2 separate regions of the Homo sapiens genome follow, and region 2 is linked to region 1. Evidence: promoter capture Hi-C in human tissues and cell types (Jung and others, 2019). All regions are on one chromosome and are shown on one strand. The core of a region is centred on a gene start or on the middle of the fragment in contact, and the rest is flanking DNA. Distances in the headings are between cores, read along the strand shown.

What was found. Contacts are between HindIII fragments. The study calls those that stand out against the background at their distance.
Region 2: a fragment that was not itself captured here is called in contact with the fragment with the promoter of COLGALT2 in region 1 in 1 of the 25 tissues and cell types used here (dorsolateral prefrontal cortex).

Annotation. Positions count from the first base shown.
Region 1 is chr1:184,035,837-184,039,882 of GRCh38, reverse strand. COLGALT2 (collagen beta(1-O)galactosyltransferase 2) reads left to right here and starts at 2,155. Exons shown (of 12, transcript NM_015101.4): 1 at 2,155-2,788. The coding sequence starts at 2,526. RefSeq lists a silencer at 2,343-2,432. The HindIII fragment of the contact is 4,544 bases long and covers 1-4,046 here.
Region 2 is chr1:184,578,899-184,582,944 of GRCh38, reverse strand. The region is part of intron 3 of C1orf21 (chromosome 1 open reading frame 21); the gene reads right to left. Among named protein-coding and RNA genes, the nearest start is that of EDEM3, 170 kb to the left of the region's middle. The HindIII fragment of the contact is 6,340 bases long and covers 1-4,046 here.

The sequences.
Region 1 (4,046 bases), core at 906-3,405:
CTAGCTTTAAACTCCCTCTGTTTGCAGTAAAGTGAACAAATGATAACTATCAAACCAAGTTTGGCTAAGGAGTGCGGATTTTAGTATTGAAAGATGAGTGGGACATAGTTCAAGAAAGGGAAACAAGAAAGACAGAACAACATGGAGATTGTCTGGACCTTTCTAACAGTCCCATCACTACCTCCCTTGTGGAAATGACCACATCTTCCTCTATCCCTTCACTGTAGCTGGTACATCTGTTACAGTACTTCTAACAGATGTTTAACTCTCAGTCTTCCCTACAAGACTGTGAGCCCCTTGAAAGTGGGAACAATTCCTGAAAATGGATGGAGGGGAAGGAAATGTCTGTAGGCCATTCGATAAAAAAATATGAAGATTAGAGAAGAGATTAGAGCAGAAGACATAGATTTTGAGGATATAACCACAGGAGACCATATGGAGTGGGAAGACTAGCACACTATAGGGAGGCACACAGTGAAGGGGCTTGGCTCAGAGACAAGTAGTATCAGAGGAGATCTAGGATGGGAGATTATGTAATCGAAGTCCAGGAAGGTGAGAACGGAAGAGTTTACTGAATCTGCCAATGCTGAGGCCATCTGTTGGTTTTGCAGAACAGTGGGGAGGGCTGACGCCTTACTGCACTGTGGTGGGAAAGATGGGAGATGAAGAAGTGGAGAATACAAGTATAGATCTCTCTTCCAAGGAGCTTGGTCAAGCAAAGGGATGACTAGAAGAAGACACAGGACTTTTTTTTAAAGCTTTTCTTTCTTTTTTTTTTAACGGATAAGAGAAGACTGACCAAGTATTTAGCTTGAGAGAAAGGAGTTGATAGAGATCAGTTGAAGATTCAGTAGAGAGTGGAATGATAGAGAAAAATCATGGGCTAGAAAGGGAGACCTCTCCCTTTCTAGTCTGTGATCAAAGACCCTGTCGTGAGGAGGCACCTGCAAGTAAGAAAGGTCTTGGTAGGGATGCTAGTTGGAGACAGTGGTGTTGGGGGAGCTGGATGAAGGAGGTGATATACTTCAAAAGACAGTAGGGAAGACTTCTAATAGTTGCTGAGAAGGATTGATAACAACTAATAAAAAGACTATGGGACAGACCTGAGGGTGAGTTGGGATTGGAGATCATGAATGTGCACTGGCACCAAAACACCCTCCATACTTATCTATCAAAGGCTACACAATATATCTTCAAAACTAAATATCCAGCCGAGCATGGTGGCTGATGCCTGTAATCGTAACACTTTGGGAGGCCGAGTTGGGCAGATCACTTGAGCCCAGGAGTTCCAGACCAGCCTGGGCAAAATGGTGAAAACCCGTCTCTACAAAAAAAAAAAAAAAAAAAAAAATTAGCTAGGCGTGGTGATGGACACCTGTGGTCCCAGCTACTCGGGAGGCTGAGGTGGGAGGATTGCTTGAGCCCAGGAGGTCGAGGCTGCAGTGAATTGTGATCGTGCCTCTGCACTCCAGCCCCGGCAACAGAGTGAGGCCCTGTCTCAAAAAAAAAAAAAAAAAAAAAGTAAATCTCCTTTAGCAGTGTATGCCAGCAGTTTCATTTTATGTGCTAATTGTGTTCTTCCTTCACCCCTTCTTTTCTTCCTTATCTCTTCTCTGCTCTCCAACATGCGCGAATTTTCCCTCTTTGTTACTCTATCATATTGGCTTATTACGGAAAAAGAAAACCAGCTAAGTGAATTTATTCTTTCACAGCCCTCCTGTGAGGAGGCTTACTGGGTTCACAGTAGAGTGAGGCTTCAGGACAGTGTCTCCCAAGGGCTTTCTTTTATTTTGCGGGGTCTGATCTGGCTCCAAAATTCTCCAAGTCTTCAAACTTTGTGTTATTAGGTGTCTACTCAGTCAAGAATGAATTTCAGAAGTTGAGTATATAAGAAAATGCGACATGCTGCCTTTGCGGTGGTTAAACAAGTGTTTGTCATAATCGTGAATAGTTGGGGAGACTTTTCATTTTAGAACTCTACTCAGTCAATAGGTGCATTATGAAAACTGGATACATTGCATCACTGTGAAGGGCTTCAGTCTGCGGTTTGCAAAAGCAGAATAAATTTTCTTGGGGTTGTACCGTTATGTACACACACACACACACACACACACACACACACACACACTCACAGGCTCATTGGCAGACAGGGCCACAACTCGCGGCTCTAGGGAAGGCCACAGACCTCAGCTGTACGAGCGGAACCTGGACTAGAGGAACTTTCCTCAGGACTCAGGGCACACAGCCCCTCGGCCACTACTGTCTGCGAGCCCGAGGCGCAGGGGAGCGCCAGCGGCTGCAGGTACGCTGCGCACCCGCACTGGGGCCTGGGCGGTGCAGCGGCGGCGGGAGGGTCCTGGGAACCGCAGCCGCCGAGGCCAGTGTGTGAGCCGGCCGGCCGCGGCAAGCCGCATCCCCCGGCCGCCCCTCGCAGCCCCTTGCTCCCCGGCAGCCGCCGCCGCCCTCAGGCAGCCCAGCCGGGCGCTCGCGCCAGGACTTCCCCGCCGCCCGCCTCGGCCCGGAACATGGCTGCGCGCCCTGCTGCCACCCTCGCCTGGTCGCTACTGCTCCTCTCCTCAGCCCTGCTCCGCGAAGGCTGCCGAGCGCGCTTCGTCGCCGAGCGGGACTCGGAGGACGACGGAGAGGAGCCGGTGGTTTTCCCGGAGTCGCCCCTGCAGAGCCCCACGGTGCTCGTGGCGGTCCTCGCCCGCAACGCGGCGCACACGCTGCCGCACTTCCTCGGCTGCCTGGAGCGGCTGGACTACCCCAAGAGCAGGATGGCCATCTGGTGAGCGCGCACGGGCCCCGGGCCGCCGCGGCGGGACGCGGGGGCGGCCTGCCCAGCGCGGACAGCGCCCGGAGCAGCAGCTGCAGGGCGAGGGAGCCGCTGGAGGGGCGGGGGGGCACGCGGAAAATCTGGCGCACACACCCCCTCGCTGCCCGCGCCGGTGGCTGGCGGATCGGGCGGTCAGGCTGCGGAGGGACGCGCGGGTCAGTGTGCGCAGAGGGTGCTGATGGGGAGAACCGGACCGCTGGAGCTCTGGAGGGTAGCCTGCGAATTGGGGCTTTGTCCCACAAGGGGCATGGGGGACACCCCTCAAGGGGACTTTCAGTTCCCTCGCTTTTAACTCTCGAGGTTTCCTCTTTCCCCACCTCATACTGCTAGCCCTGACGTGAGGGGATAGGGTGCCTGTCGCCGTATTCCCATGTAGATACGACAGATGGAACGTAACTGCGGTTGGCCAGGGGCTCCGCAGTGGCTGGGGCGCCGCAGTGCGCTGCTCTGACTTTCCGGTGCCGGGCTCCTGCTCCAGGCTGGAAATGTGCTCCTAGCTCTCCTAGGGGGACCTGGACCTAGGGGTGGAGATTGGGCGGAGCCCGCGGAGTGTGCCCAACCATGGCACCACCGTGGGCCTGGTCTCCTGCGAGCGCTCCGGGCTGTCCCTGCCGGTGCATCGGGGTTCCACGTCCCGGGGAGAGACGAAGATGCCCTGGGAAAGATAAACAGCCAAGTTTTGTCCCCGGAGGAAAGAAGCTTGGACCTGGTCCCTGTGTCTGCTGCGGGGAGGGCCAGGGGATAAGTGCGGGTGCCTGCCCGCCCCACCTTGTAGAACTTGGTCGTCTCGCACCTTTTATAAACGCGAGGATCCGAGGGCGAGAAGTTAGTTGGTGGCCAGGTTAGCCGCTGAGTGGGTTGTGGAGGACAAGGAGGTGGATGCTGGCCAGGGGAGATGTGCTGTCAGGTAGGTACTCGGACAAGAAGACTCTGGCCCCCTGAGGAAGACAGAGCCCAGGTCACTCTGGAGCAATTTCTGTCTTGTGTTGATAAAGGGAGCTGTTCTCAGGCGAGACACATCCTTAAAGCAGCGGTTGGGCAAAGAGAGGAAGAGGAGTAAAAGCAGCAGCTAGAATTGGCAGCCTCAGAGTACCTGGTGGGAGAGGTGCAAAGGTGCGAAAGCAAACATGTGATATAGTACAGCTCTGTGCTGTACACTGCTTTACTATATACCCTGCCATACGTGACCGCCTGGCGGAGAAGGGCATAT
Region 2 (4,046 bases), core at 1,025-3,524, 540 kb before region 1:
ATCTCTTGAAACCGGGAGATGGAGGTTTCAGTGAGCTGAGATCAAGCCCTTGCACTCCAGTCTGGGTGACAGAGCAAGATTCCGCCTCAAAAAACAAAACAAACAAACAAACAAACAAAAAAACATTCCCTCAAACCTCACCTTCTTAATACTAAAGGGAACAACACCCATGTTCAGGATGCCGACTAAAAGCATTGTCTGCAAGGAATGGAACTGCTTTTCTCCTATCACTTCTTTACCTTTTTTATCCCACTTAGTCTAAGAAAGCTGTTGCCCTGTAAGGTTCCCTTTGCAAATTGGTTCTGAATTGATAGTCTGGAGAGGAATCTCATTTTCTTTTTCTGGGTTCAGCAATAGGAAGTCTGTCTTACAGAGAAATCTCAGGGGCCAGATAGATGCTGGAGGCCTAGAGAAAAGTAGTGGGGATTAGAGTATCGGCTCTTGGGACTGCTAATGAGTGCCCTACACAGAGAGGAGACATAAAAGCACTAAATTGGGACTCTCAAAGGGTGTGCCCTGCACACAGACTGTGAGCATGTGTGTGTGTACATTTGCACAACTGCATTTCAGAAGCACATGAAAACTAGAAAAAATAATTTGACAACTAGAAGCAAGAGATTTGTGGTGAAGTACACACACATTTTAAAAATTTGGCTATAAAATAAACAATAATGCTAGCTTTGGGGGAGTAACCCACAGGATGTAATCTCTAAGAAAACAATCCCATTTGATGTCTTACACTTGATTTCTCAAGCGGTATTAACATGAGATAGGACACTGTCTCCTTCAAATACAAAGGAATTTTATCTTGTCTTCTGAATGATGGTGATCAGAGAAGCCACCTTGACTCTCAGAATTTCAGGATGTTTACAAATGAAGCCCAAGCTGCCAGATTCAACAATTAACTCAAGCCACCAGTATCAATACAATTACCTGAAGTCAATACTTCCATTACAATTACCTGTCCACAGAGATTATTAGAGTTATTAGTATTTTGTTACAATTATTTAGTAGTAATAAAGTTGGCATGTAAAGTCTCAGCTTTTTGGAAGTTATTTTTCTATAAATTAAAATACAGCCATGTATCTCATTTTATATCAAACAAACATGAAGTGGGGCAAATCAGTTTTAAAGCACCTAACATTTTTCACAAAGTTGCTTTTCAAGGTAGACTGCAAACATTTACAATCTTAAGAAAGTAAACAGAGTTGTAAAAAATTGCTCAGAACAGATTTAATTGCATACCAACAAATTTATTAAAAGTCATTAAGTCACCATGTCAATAATTAAAATAAGCTATGATATAAATTCCACTGGGAATTATAAGTTAAGGCTGTTTTAAAAAGATAATATATCTCCAAGTTTTTCAAATAAGTATTATATACACACACAGAAAATCAACGAACTTGGAAGAACCACATTCAATTTTTACCCAGAGTGTTTTTAATCAGTCAGAATAGGGTAGGTTATGCTATAGTAAAAAATGACCCCCAGTATTAATTTTTTTTTTTTTTTGAGACAGGGTCTCCCTCTGTCACTCAGGCTGGAGTGCAGTGGCACAATCTCGGCTCACTGCAACCTTCGCCTCCCAGGTTCAAGCAATTCTCCCGCCTCAGCCTCCTCCTGAGTGGCTGGGATTACAGATGCATGCCACCATGCCTGGCTAATTTTTGTATTTTTAGTAGAGATGGGGTTTCACCATATTGGTCAGGCTGGTCTGGAACTCCCAACCTCAGGTGATCCACCTGCCTTGGCCTCAAAAAGTGCTGGGATTACAGGCGTGAGCCACCTCGCCCAGCCAATATTAATAGTTTATCTCCTGCACACACTACACGACCAGCACAGGCTGCAGGATGGCTCTGCTTAATCTAATCACCCAGCGACTTGGGTTAATGGAGGCCCCATGTCAACAGGTGGTTTTATAATAACCATGGCTGGAGTTCAGCAAGGGTTAGATGTTCCTACTTACTTGGCCAAAGCATGTCACAGGACCACATCTAAATTCAAGAGAGGAAAAAAATACATAGGGAGTTTTCAAAAAAGTTCATGGAAAACGTGTATTATGAAAAAAATATGCATGGATTTCAAAATTTTTTCCACCAAAATAAATTTGTACTGACTAGTTATAACATGATTGAACAGAATCTAGTTCAAGGCACTAAGGATAAGATATCAGTTTGAAAACAGCCCCTATCAGAGCAATATGAATTTTACTAAAACTGAAGCAAGAACAAACACAAATTTATGGTGAAGCTTAAGTGGAAGAATGGTGAAATCATTGATGCTTGTTGAAAAGTTTATGGGGACAACGTCCCAAAGAAATCAGCAGGTTACAAGTGGATAATTCATATTAAGAAGGGATGAGATGATGTTGAAGATGAAGCCCACAGGGGCAGACCATCCACATCAATTTGTAAGGGAAAAATCAATCTTGTTCATGCCCTATTTGAGGAGGACCAATGATTAACAGCAGAAACAATAGTCAACATCATAGACATCTCAATTGGTTCAGCTTATGTAAGTCTGACTAAAAAATTCAAGTTCAGTAGACTTTCCATTCAATGGGTGCCAAAGCTGTTGCACCCAGATTAGCTGCAGACAAGAGCAGAGCTTTCAATGAAAACTTTAAATAAGTGAGATCGAGAACCTGATCTGCATTCCCTCAAAGGATTGTAACAGGAGATGAAACGTGGCTTTACCAGTACAATCCTGAAGACAAAGCACAATCAAAGTGATGGCTACCAAGAGGAGGAAGTGGTCTACATAAAGCAAAAGTGAACCAGTCAAGAGTCAAGGTCATGGCAAAAATTTTTAGGGATGTTCAAGACATTTTGCTTGTTGACTTTCTGGAGGGCCAAAGAATGATAACACCTGATTATTAGGAGAGTGTTTTGAGAAAGTTAGCCAATACTTTTGGAGAAAAATGCCCCAGAAAGCTTCACCAGAGAGTCCTTCTCCACCATGACAAGGCTCCTGCTCATTCCTCTCATTAAGCAAGGGCAATTTTGCAAGAGTTTTTATGGGAAATCATTAGGCATCCACCCTACAGTCCTGATTTGGCTCCTTCTGACTTTTTGTTTTCTAATTTTAAAAAATCTTTCACACAAGGAGTCATCTCTACTTTAAGAAAATCTTGGGCTGGGCGCAGTGGCTCATGCCTGTAATCCCAGCACTTTGACAGGCCGAGGAGGGTGGATCACGAGGTCAGGAGTTCGAGACCAGCCTAACCAACATGGTGAAACCCCGTCTCTGCTAAAAATACAAAAATTAGCCAGGTGTGGTGGTGGGTGCCTGTAATCCCAGCTACTCGGGAGGCTGAGGCAGGAGAATCACTTGAACCCAGGAGGTGGAGGTTGCAGTGAGCTGAGATCGTGCCACTGCACTCCAGCCTGGGCGACAAGAGTGAAACTCCATCTTAAACAAAAAAAAAAGGAAAAAAAAAAAAAAAAAGAAAATCTTGATGGGATGCTGAGGTGGGAGATTGCTTGAGGCCAGGAGTTCAAGACCAGACTGGGCAACATGGTGAGACCTCGTCTCAAAAAAAAAAAAAAAAAAAAAAAAAAAACCCAGCTTATATTAAAAAAATACCTTTAGGTCAGGTGTAGTAGTTCATGCCTATAATCCCAGCACTTCGGGAGGCTGAGGTGGGCAGATCACTTGAGTCCAGGAGTTTGAGACCAGCCTGGCTAACATGGTGGAACCCTATCTCTACTAAAAATACCAAAAAAAAAAAAAAAAAATTAGCCAGGCATGGTGGTGCACTCCTGTAGTCCCAGCTACTCAGGAGGCTGAAGCACAAGAATTGTTTGAACCCAGGAGGTGGAGGTTGCAATGAGCCGAGATGGAGCCACTGCACTCCTGTCTGGGCAATGGAGTGACTCTGTCTCAAAAAAAAAAAGAACTTTAAAGGGCACCCAAGACGCTCAGTTCTTTTTTTTTTTTTTTTTTTTTAACCTTCACAAGAGGATGGATGCCAGGTCCTCAGTTCTTCAGTGATGGACTAAATGACGGATATCATTGCTTACAAAGCTGTCTCAAACGTGACA